Regions from separate parts of the Homo sapiens genome. Here region 1 is linked to region 2. Evidence: promoter capture Hi-C in human tissues and cell types (Jung and others, 2019). All regions are on one chromosome and are shown on one strand. Each heading gives the region's core, a stretch centred on a gene start or on the middle of the fragment in contact. The rest is flanking DNA. Distances are from core to core; before and after follow the strand shown. Region 1 holds the start of CARF (calcium responsive transcription factor). Region 2 holds the start of BMPR2 (bone morphogenetic protein receptor type 2).

Region 1 (5,574 bases), core at 733-3,232, 540 kb before region 2:
TATTAACTACATTAAAAAGTATTGCTCGGCGGGATGCTGGTGGCTCACACCTGTAATCCCAGCACTTTGGGAGGCCAAGGTGGGCAGATCACGAAGTTAAGAGATTGAGACCATCCTGGCCAACGTGGTGAAACCCCATCTCTACTAAAAATACAAAAAAGTTAGCTAGGTGTGGTGGTGCGCACCTATAGTCCTAGCTACTGGGGAGGTTGAGGCAGGAGAATCGCTTGAACCTGGGAAGCACAGGTCGCAGGGAGCCAAGATTGTGCCACGGCACTACAGCCTGGCGACAGAGTGAGACTCTGTCTCAAAAATAAATAAATAAATAAATAAATAAATAAATAAAATATTGCTCAAAAGTACTTTAGAAAGTAAAATTTACCGCATCTTTTAGAGGTAAATGACATAACATTCCTTTTATAATATGTACAAAATTACTATGAATCAGTGGTGTCAAAAATGAAATCAAGACTAATTCACAAATATTTTAATAGGATAATTTATTTTTTAAGAATCAGTTTTTAAAGTTATGTTAAACATCGAACTTTTAAATGCATGCAATTATATATAAACAATAACCTATATTAATTTTTAAATTTTCTGCTGGATGCAGTGGCTCATGCCTGTAATCCCAGCGCTTTGGGAGTCTAAAGTGGGCGGATCTTGAGGTCAGGAGTTGGGAGGCCAGCCTGGCCAACATAGTGAAACCCTGTCTCTACTTAAAAAAAAACAAAAAAAAACAGGCTAGGTGCAGTGGCTCATGCCTGTAATCCCAGCACTTTGGGAGGCTGAGCAGATGGATCACAAGGTCAGGAGATTGAGACCATCCTGGCCAACATGATAAAACCCTGTGTCTACCAAAAATACAAAAATTAGCTGGGCGTGGTGGCGTGTGCCTGTAATCCCAGCTACTCGGGAGGCTGAGGCAGGGGAATTGCTTGAACCAGGGAGTTGGAGGTTGCAGTGAGCCAAGATTGCACCACTGCACTCCAGCCTGGTGACAGAGCCAGACTCCATCTCAAAAAGAAAACAAAACAAAATACAAAAATCAGCTGGGAGTGGTGGCAGGAGCCTGCAATCGCAGCTATTGGGGAGGCTGAAACACGGATCACTTGAACCTGGAAGGCAGAGGTTGCAGTGAGATGAGATCATGCCACTGCATTCCAGCCTGGGCAACAGAGCAAGACTCCACCTCAACCAGTACAGTGGCTCACGCCTGTAATCCCAGCACTTTTGAAGGCCGAGGTGGGAAGATCACAAGGTCAGGGGATCGAGACCATCCCGGCCAACATGGTGAAACCCCTTCTCTACTAAAATACAAAAAATTAGCCGGGCATGGTGGCAGGCACCTGTAGTCCCAGCTACTCGGGAAGCTGAGGCAGGAGAATCGCTTCAACCTGGAAGGCGGAGGTTGCAGTGAGCTAAGATAGCGCCACTGCACTCCAGCCTCGCGACAGAGGGAGACTCTGAAAAAAAACAAAAAACCAAAAACAAAACAACAAACACCACCACCACCACCAAAAAACCCTCCAACTCAAAAAATAAAAAAATAAAAAAAAGCACTTTTTAATTTTCAGGGAAAAAAAATCTAAGGCTGGTGTTCACAATGTCAATTTTATTTATGGTTTATTCTCACTATAAGCTTCCCTGCAATCCATTTCTACCCATGTTTTACTCTGCACAAACTTTTTACCTTTTTGCTCTGATTTTTTGTTTGTTTTTTTTTTTTGAGATGGAGTTTCACTCTTTTTGCCCAGGCTGGAGTGAAGTGGCGTGATCTTGGCTTACTGCAAACTCCACCTTCCAGGTTCAAGCAATTCTCCTGCCTCAGCCTCCCCAGTAGCTCGGATTATAGGCACCCCCCACCATGCCTGGCCAATTTTTGTATTTTTAGCAGAGACGGGGTTTCACCATGTTGGCCAGGCTGGTCTCAAACTCCTGACCTCAGGTGCTCCACCCGCCTCAGCCACCCAAAATGCTGGGATTAGGCTGCTCTTTGAGAGCTTTACAAATTTATTTAATCCTTACAATGACTCTGAGGTAGATCTTCTTGTCTCTGTTTGTAGATAAGAAAACTGGAACTGTCAAGAAACTTGCTTAAGATCACAGAGTGCATTAGGCTTGGATCCATAATCAAATTGGAAAAAAAGAAAAACACAAAGAACAATTAAGACTCCAAAGCCCTAATGCATAGTCTTTGTATCCTATCACACTGTGGCATTATATATATAAAACAAAAAACTTTATAATAAAGAGAAATGTATTTTCCAAACTGTGGTTCTCCAGATAACAATGTGTCTCCATGAGGACCATATAGTAAATACATCCCATAAAAAATGATTACCAACCAAAAGCTTGCAATTAATGTTCCAACTAAAGAAAAAGACTCAAAGTAAAAGCATCAGCTATCCTAGGTACTGTTTGGAGGCAACACCAAACACGACACATAAATCATTGTTGAAAAAAACCGTAAAACATAATGCTGGGTATTTAGTTATGTTGAATGCTAAAACTAATCTTTCCTTAACTAAAGGTCTCCGTCAAATGAAAAGTGTATTTTAGTCAAGTCAGGATTTCTGTTTTGCAAACTGAAAGTCTTATATTATTAAGCATATATTCAGGTTATTTTCCTGATCATAATTTTCAAATCAAATTAAGATCAAACTCTACTGTCAGGTACTGTATATTCTCATTTTGATAAATTTCAAATTAATGATAAAAATGTATTAACCTGCTGGTCAATTATACATTTTATAAATATATTTTAACCAATGACATATTACCAGTAAGTACAGATTCAACGGCAAGATTTCATTAAGAAAGTGTTTCAAGCTTCAGATGCCCAAGACTTATTTAATGTGTAAATCCTCACCACTACAATAACCACATGGTTAAACGATCACCACTTCCATTAGCAAGCTCAAGCCTAATAAGTGATCTCCTGGGACTTCAGCACAGAGGTTTTCTAATTTTATTCCTCCACTCAATGTGGCTATTCTCCCTTATCTATTCACGCTGGCAAAGCTTCTAGTTAAACTGGAATTAGTAACTATTTGATGATAATAATTAACATATACTGAGTGCTTCCGATGCCGCAGTTAATTCTTATAGTTGATAAAAGTGTGGCACAAAAAGGTTAATCAAGTAGCAGAGGCAGGATTTGAACCCAGGAATTCTGGTTCCAGGGCCCGGATTCGGAGCTACAAAGGTGAGTAAACTGAAAAGAGTCCTACTTTTATTGTCATTGCTCTCTAATAAAAATTATTTTTTCTTCCAATTGTTTAAATCTCTTCTCATTCTCTATTTAAATATTAGGCGTTCATTTAAACATTAGGCGTCTACCTTACAGTAGGACATCTTTAAACAACGTAAAAAAGGAAAGCTTTGTCTTCACCTGCACACATACCGGTCTGCCCATAAATTTTGCAATCCAGTTCTGCCTGATTCTAAACTGCTTGTCTCTTGAAGCGAATGCCTTAAAAAGTGACATTGGGATCAGGATAGTTATCTCCATCCATCCTCCCTCAGAAAAACAACTATATTAGAGTAATTCTTGGGACCATTGAGAACAATACACAGGCCTTTGGGTAACTTCAAGACAAAAAAGGCAAAAAGTCGGGGAGAAGGTGTGGGAGGATGATTTTCCCCTTCTAAACGTAAGGTATAAAAGGGCTCAGAAAGCGGAAAAAGAACCCTAAAAAGCAAGGTGCGGGACGGCGTGAGGGACCACACATTGGGCGCTCCGCCCAAGGGGTCCGGCTCCTTCTCCGCGGCGATGGCGCGTCCTTGGGCTCAGCAACCCTCCTGAAGACACCTAACCTCCTCCTTCTCCAGCCTGCCCCTCTGGGGCCTGCGAGCCCCGTCCCGGGCCGGGGGTCGGAAGCCGTGCCATGTGGGACCCCGAAAAGGCCCCCAAGCTTGGCGCGGAAGGCGCCGCCAGTGACCGGCTGCGGCTGGGGGCGGAGGCCGGCAGTTGCTCGGAGCTCCGGCGGGTCAGGAGGTGACGGGAGGAGGAGGAGGCAGGAGGAAGACGGGGGGTTGGGAGGTAGCGTCCGGTAGGTCTGCGCAGACAGCGCTGCCAGACCTCTGACTCCCCCAGTCCTGCCGCCGCCGATAGCCCCACAAGGCGACATGGGAAGTCCGCCGGAGCAGAGGGGAGAAAATTCAAAACGAGTCTACTCAACCTCGTCTTGGCTCCGAGGCCCCGCCATGGAGACCAGCATAATGCGCAGGCGCGCCCCACCGGGAGCGCGCAGAGCAGTCCCACGACAGTAGGACCACTATCGGCCACCGTCGACCGTTTCCTCTCTCATCCGTTCTTTTCTTTGTATTTCCGCCTCTCGCCTCTCTCTAAAAGCCGCAGTTAGAGGCGAGATTTAGGAAAAACCTCTGCCGAGTGAGCCTCTGGTTGGGAATATGTATGAGAAAAAAAAACTGGCAAGGCGTTAGTCAAGCAAAGCTGAAGGCAGAGGAAATTTGATATCTGGCTGGAGTCTAGAGGATTTAATGCAAATAAGATACTCTGAGGGCAGCGTGGCAAAAAAAGACTACAATTCCCGGTGGTCACAGCGTTTGAGAAGCGATGCTTTCTGAGACTTGTAGTAACTAGGAGCTGTGTTTGAACTATCCAGGCTCAGGACAGCCTCTTGAAAAAAAATTTTTTATTAATAAAGCGGATTTGAGTGGGATCTTTTTCCTAATCGATTACGGGCCCACACGTATGGGAAGAATTCTAACAATGATTAAAGGGACATGCTACCTTTACGACTATCCTTTTCTAATCGATGACTCCTAAATCTAGGAGTAGGTAGTCGATGTTTGTGGTCTGGGCGTCTGTAGAAGGGCAACCTCGTGCTTTCTGCAGAGGAGACCGGAGGGCAGAAGGCAGAGTCCAGGCTTAGACTGCAGTTCCTCGCTTACCTGTGCAGTCTAATTTTGAGCTGCCTCTTTGTAGTCTTAAAAGGCAGGAGCTTCGTGTTGTGGGTCTGCTAACCCGTACGTTTCCGTGGGCAAGTCGTGTGTACTCCTCGCCATGGCTCAGCTCCAAACACGCTTCTACACTGATAACAAGAAGTAAGTAAGCGTTCCAGCCTTCTCTCCCTTCCCCAGGTTCCTTTCCGACCACCCCTTTGGTATGACCTTGTGGATCCCTGGTTGTTTCTGCTGTCACCCCCACCCTTTTTTCTGAGATTACCTGCTTTCTAACCAGCTTCGTAGGTTCTATATAATTTGAATTGTGAGTGTGGAGGAGGCTGAAGGGCTTCAGGTTTGCTTTCTGAATGAAACATTTTATATGTGTAATTTAAAAATGAACAGTGGGCCTTGTTATAGGGTGTCTGCTAGTGGTGGTTCACAGTTTTTGAAAACGGAAAAAAAGTTTTTGAAAATGAAAAAACATATTTACCATTTATGTATATCTATATAGATATATAAACATTTTAACCAGTGGTCTCAAGGTCTGTTAGCACTCATTCGAAAACTAATTATATGCTGCCTTGTGGTATATATTGCATTGTTAGCTTTCTTTGTGTTTGCCTGGTCTCTTCCAACTATATTGGAAGTCTCTTGAGGGCA
Region 2 (5,616 bases), core at 1-2,500:
GGGACGTGCCGGCCGGAGCTACTCACCAGCCGCAGTGCTGACCAGCAGGATGGTCCATGGTAGCCAGGGCACCCGCCAGGGCCGCTGCAGCGAGGAAGTCATCCCTGGGCCAGCCAAGAATCAGGAGGGCAAAGAAAAGAAATATGGGAAGTAGACCGGCGGAGAAACAGCCGGGAGGCTCGTCTTCTCTCCCGTGGACTGATCCTGCCCGTATCACAATACAGTTTGAAAGGACAAATGGCTGATGAGAGGACCTAGCTGCAGAGCTTTCATGCCGCTGCAGAAATTCCCTTCATTTCTCTCCCTCGCGGCTGGGGGGGTTCCTTCGCCTCGGACGGGGTGCCGCGGCCCTCCAAACGGAAGGCATGTCTGTGGGGAAAGCAGGGAGCCAAGAAGAAATCCCCCAAATTATTTCCCTCGTAGTTTCACGATATCAAAAAAATATCCAGGTCTGGGAGAAAACATATCCAGGGTGCGGAGGGCGGGGATTCGATCCGGGGTCGGGGGGCGAGGGTCAGAACTAGTTCCCGACTGCCGGGAAGGACGAAGCCGGACGGGCGGCGGCGGCGCCCGGCAGCCCTAGTCGCATCGCCCGCGGCTCCGGGAAGGCAGGATTCCTTAAGTTTCGCTTCGGTGCTTCCTTCACTCTGATTTCGAAAACAACAAATCCTCTTCCTTGACTGGATCAAAAAAGGTGCCTGCCTCCATGGACAAGCTCACAGTCCCCACGCCTTCGCAGAACAACCGTGAGAGGGTTGGGGAGGCCCTGGCGAAGGCTGAGGAGAGGTAGGAGCGGGGGAGGGGAGGGGTCGCGGTCGCGGCCCCGGTCCGGGCTCCCCGAGACGGCAGGCGGAGTGGGTGTGAGAGGCTGCCCCTTCTAGTCCTCCCGGCGGCGCTCCCTTCCCTTCCTCGCTTTTTATTCCTGCGGCTCGATCTTGCCTGAGGTAAATTCCACCAAGAAAGCCTCCTCTTCTCCCGTCAATGGCTCCTGTGAGCGAATCACAACCCCCCGAGGAAGCCGCTGCTGCTGCCGCCGCCGCCGCCGCCGCCGCCGCCGCCGCCGCCTCGTTCTCCCGCAGCTCTGGGCTCCTGACGGAACTCGGGCGTCGCGGACCGAGGGCGGGGGGCGGCGGGAGGGCGGATGAAGGTAGCCGGGGAAGGGGGTGGGCAGGGAGGCGGCGAGACACCCTGCGTCCCTCCGGGAGGCACTTCCAGTGGCTCCGAGCAGACCAGACACAAAGGGGGGAGTCGCCGCAGCTGCCAGTCTGCGGCGCTCCCGGTCACCGGAGTCGCCCCGCCTCCGCCGCCGCCTCCGCCTCCTCCTCAGTCTCCGGCTCTTCCCGGCCCTGTCTGTCTCTAGCCTGTGGTGCAGAGCGGGCGGCGGCGGCGGCGGCGCCGGCGGCGGGATGAAGCCCGCACTGCGCCTGCGCGCTCACGGCCCCGCCCGGCCCCGCCCCTCGTTCGGGGCTGGCTGAGGGCTCCGAGGCCCCACCGCAGCGCGTCTCTCCGGTGAATGGCCGAGGGCTGGGTGGGGCTGCGGTGGGCAGCGGTGGCCTTTCTCCTTCACACACATACACATGCCTTCCAAATGTGCATGGCTTGGGATTCGCGTATTTGTTTAAGAGACGACGGCCACATCCTTTTGTTCGGCGTTCAGCAGACTCCTCCGAGTTCCGGGATTTCTCCCGACTGAGGCGTCTCCGTCTCAGTACTCTCGGAGGAAAGCCTCGAGGGGCAGAACTGCCCTCTGTTGTTTCACGGGGCTGGAACCTCCCTCTCCGCAGCCCAAAGAATCCGGATGGACCCGCCTTTCCCAGAACCGGAGACCTTGGCCTCCTCAGGCTCCCCTCTGACTCAAACAAAAGCCGGAATTGGAAAGACCACCCCTTTGATGTGTTCGCTGTAATCGACGTCCTGCTTTCCTCAACCGCCCATTCCCTTAGCCTTCTTAGTTGACAGGAATATTGAGTATTTGCAAGGATGCGAAGCCAGAAAAAAAAAAAAGACTTTTAATTCTATAAATCGTCCCGCTGCGTGCGCGCGTCTGTCCGTACAGCGCGGTGCCCACCCCGAGAGAGGGCCTGGATTCACCAAGGCTGGGGGCCTTGAGGGCTTTTTAGGGCACGTGAAAGGAAAATGGAGTTAGAGTTGTGTCGGGATAGAGAGTGGGATCATTTTGCACTCAAGGAATTGAGAAGATCCCGTTGGTACCGCAGTTTCCAAGGATTTGTGTAGTGCGTTTTTTGGATCTGGTTTGTACAAGCGACCAGTATAGGAGACGGGATCCCTCCCGCCCTTACACCCCGCTGCGGGGTCAGCCGACGTGGGTGGGATTTTGCTGGCGGCGAGGGGAGAAGGTGACGTGCGTGGCGCCATGATCGGAAGTCTGGACTGAATTCTTAGCTGCGAGGTGGAAAATGCGCGTGGGAGGGCGATCTTGAGGGGTGAAGTCTGGCCTTCCCATCTCCTACCAGGCAGGAGGGTTATGCTGAAGGCTGGTTTTGCTGGTCTTTCATTGTGGCTAAGGGCAGTTCCACAGATACAGTCATAGATAGACTCCTTAAGTCATGCTCTGCTTGCTTCTTCTAGTCCGCTGTTACCTCTTTATCTGAATTTGATGTAAATAAATCTCCACATTCCTTAAACTGGTTCTGTTATACTAAACATCTTCCATAATTAGGGGTTGTAGCAATACCAACCCCGGATTCTAAGACTCTTTTTAGTTGAAATATGTTTATGCTGTTTACCCTTTAGACAGAGAAAAAAAAATTCTACCTAGTAAAATCCCTTAAAAAGACGAAGAGCATATGCTTTGATTCATTAGCTTTATTTATTTAGGTTTTATTTATTTATTTATTTATTTATTGAGGCGGAGTCTTGCTCTGTCGACCAGGCTGCGGTGCAGTGGCGCGATCTCGACTCACTGCAACCTCCACCTCCCAGGTTCAAGCAATTCTCCGGCCTGAACCTCCCGAGTAGCTGAGATTACAGGCGGCGCCATCACGCCCGGCTAATTTTTGTATTTTTAGTGGAGACAGGGTTTCACCATGTTTGCCAGGCTGGTCTCGAACTCCTGACCTCACGTGATCCGCCCGTCTCGACCTCCCAAAGTGCTGGGATTACAGACGTGAGCCACCGCCCCCGACCGATTCTTTATAGCTTTATTACTGTATTTTGTTTTGCCCAAAAGGTCTAAATTAGAAACGGTATTGTTTTACCATTTGTCTTTCAAGAACTGAGAGTTTCTAGCACTCAGAGAAATTGGATTTTAGTATGTTAGAGGTGCAGAAAGTTTAAAGTTTATTAATTCGTAGTACACTTTTATCTTCCTCAAATTGAGATCAAGTACTTCATCATTCAATTTTTATTTGCTTAAGATTTTTTCCAAGAAACATTAAGTGTCCTTTTTGTAGTTCCCCCTTATCCACCGTTTCAGTTACCTGCAGTCAACCACGGTCTGAAAATATTACATGGAAAGTTCCAGAAATAATAAGTGGTGTTTTTTTTTGTTGTTGTTGTTTTTGTTTTTTTTGAGACGTAGTTTCTCTTTTGTTGCCCAAGCTGGAGCACAATGGCACGATCTCAGCTCACAGCAACCTCCGCCTCCCAGACTCAAGCGATTCTCCTGCCTCAGCCCCCTGAGTAGCTGGGATTACAGGCATGCGCCACCACACCCGGCTAGTTTTGTATTTTTAGTAGAGATGGAGTTTCACCATGTTGGTCAGCCTGGTCTCGAACTCCTGACCTCAGGTGATCCGCCCTTCTGGCCTCCCAAAATGATAGGATTAGAGGCGTGAGCCACTGCGCCTGGCCTCATAAATTTTAAATTGAGTACTGTTACTAACTAGCTGTGAGGAAATCGCTGCCATCCCACACTGTCCTTCTGGGATGTGAATCATGGTTTGTACAGTGTATCCGCTATAACCTCCTTAATCACTTAGTAGCAGTCTCTTATCAGACTGACTGTGGCAGTATGCAATATCCAAGTGCTTGTGTTCAACTAACCCTCGTTTTACTTAATAATGGCCCCAAAGCACAAGAGTAGTGATGCTGGCAATTCAGCCATACAGAAGCTGTAAAGTGCTTCCTGTAAGTTAAAACGTCAGAGTTCTTGCCTGTAATCTCAGCACTTTGGGAGGCCGAGGCAGGCAGATCACAAGGTCAGGATGATCGAGACCATCCTGGCTAACACGGTGAAACCCTGTCTCTACTGAAAATACAAAAAAATTAGCCAGGCGTGGTGGCAGGCGCCTGTAGTCCCAGCCACTCGGGAGGCTGAGGCAGTGAATGAATGGCATGAACCCGGGAGGTGGGGCTTGCAGTGAGCCGAGATCATGCCACTGGACTCCAGCCTGGGCGACAGAGCAAGACTCTGTCTCAAAAAAAAAAAAAAAAAAAAAAAAAAAAAAAAAAAAAAAGTCAGAGTTCTTGACTTAATAAGGAGGGAAAAAAATTATAGGCTGAGGTTGCTAAGATTGCTGGTAACAATGAATCTTTGGCAGGGTGCAGTGGCTCACGTCTGTAATCCCAGCACTTTGGGGGACCAAGGCAGGAGGATCACTTGAGGTCAAGAGTTCAAGACCTGCCTGGCCAACATGGTGAAACCCCGTCTATACCAAAAATACAAAAATTAGCTGGGAGTGGTGGCACGTGCCTGTAATCCCAGCAGCTACTCCGGAGGCTGAAGCAAGAGAATCACTTGAACGCAGGAGGTGGAGGTTGCCCATTGCACTCTAGCCCGGGCGATAGAGACTCTGGCAAAAAAAAAAAAAAAAATCTATCTGTGAAACTGAATTGTGAAGAAAAAATAAATTCATGCTAGTTTTGCTGCCATACCTCAAACTGCAAAAGTGATGGCCACAATGTGTAATAAGTGCTTAGTTAAGATGGAAAAGGCATTAAATTTGTGGGTAGAAGACATAATAGAAATGTATTCCAGTTTATAGCAATTGGGTTCAGTACTGTCTGCAGTTTCAGGCATCCACTGGAGGTCTTGGAACAAGTTCCTTGTGGATAAGGGGCAGGGAGGACTACCGTACATGTTATAAATGTATGATAAATTATATAGAACATAAAGAAAAGGTCTTAGGAAATTCACAAGAAAAAACACATGCCGCTGACTTGGTAGGTAGACAACTAGATATGTACCCTCTTCCCTTTTCTGTTCCTTCTTGTGATATTTCAGTTGGGACATGGCTGTTCACTCACAGTGAGAAAGAACATCAAAGAACAGAATTAAGACTTGGCAAGAAACCTGTCCACGACAAAAGGCAGACAATGTAAGTCAAGCTCAGCTGAGAACAAAGGACTGGTGATGCAGGTGAGGTTTGGCATCTGTACTAATTAGGATGGGCTAAATTACAGTAACATTCACCAAATCTCAGCATCTTATTGCAATAAAGGTTTATTTCTCACACATGTTACATGTTTGATATAAGTCATCAGGGGACCCATCGCAACTTGAGTTCACAGGAAATAGACACTGAAACTCTGAAATTTGTATGCAGGAGGTTATTACCTAATGATGGCAAGAGCAACCTCTGTGGGGATTGAGGGATGCAAGACTGGGCAGAGGGAGAAGTTGAATTGCAACACATTTGCAACTGAGGCATCAAT

What was found. Contacts are between HindIII fragments. The study calls those that stand out against the background at their distance.
Region 1: a contact is called between a fragment that was not itself captured here and the fragment with the promoter of BMPR2 in region 2, in 1 of the 25 tissues and cell types used here (hippocampus).

Annotation. Positions count from the first base shown.
Region 1 is chr2:202,910,935-202,916,508 of GRCh38, reverse strand. CARF (calcium responsive transcription factor) reads right to left here and starts at 4,234. Exons shown (of 17, transcript NM_024744.17): 1 at 3,407-4,234. It overlaps WDR12 (WD repeat domain 12), which reads left to right and starts at 4,836. Exons shown (of 13, transcript NM_018256.4): 1 at 4,836-5,073. The coding sequence starts at 5,033. RefSeq lists enhancers at 3,954-4,003, 4,104-4,303, 4,344-4,493, 4,504-4,653. The HindIII fragment of the contact is 3,337 bases long and covers 314-3,650 here.
Region 2 is chr2:202,371,961-202,377,576 of GRCh38, reverse strand. BMPR2 (bone morphogenetic protein receptor type 2) reads right to left here and starts at 1,250. Exons shown (of 13, transcript NM_001204.7): 1 at 27-1,250. The coding sequence starts at 102. RefSeq lists enhancers at 1-688, 1,843-2,132, 2,243-2,402 and silencers at 743-802, 873-932, 1,063-1,552, 1,703-1,752. The HindIII fragment of the contact is 15,181 bases long and covers 1-5,616 here.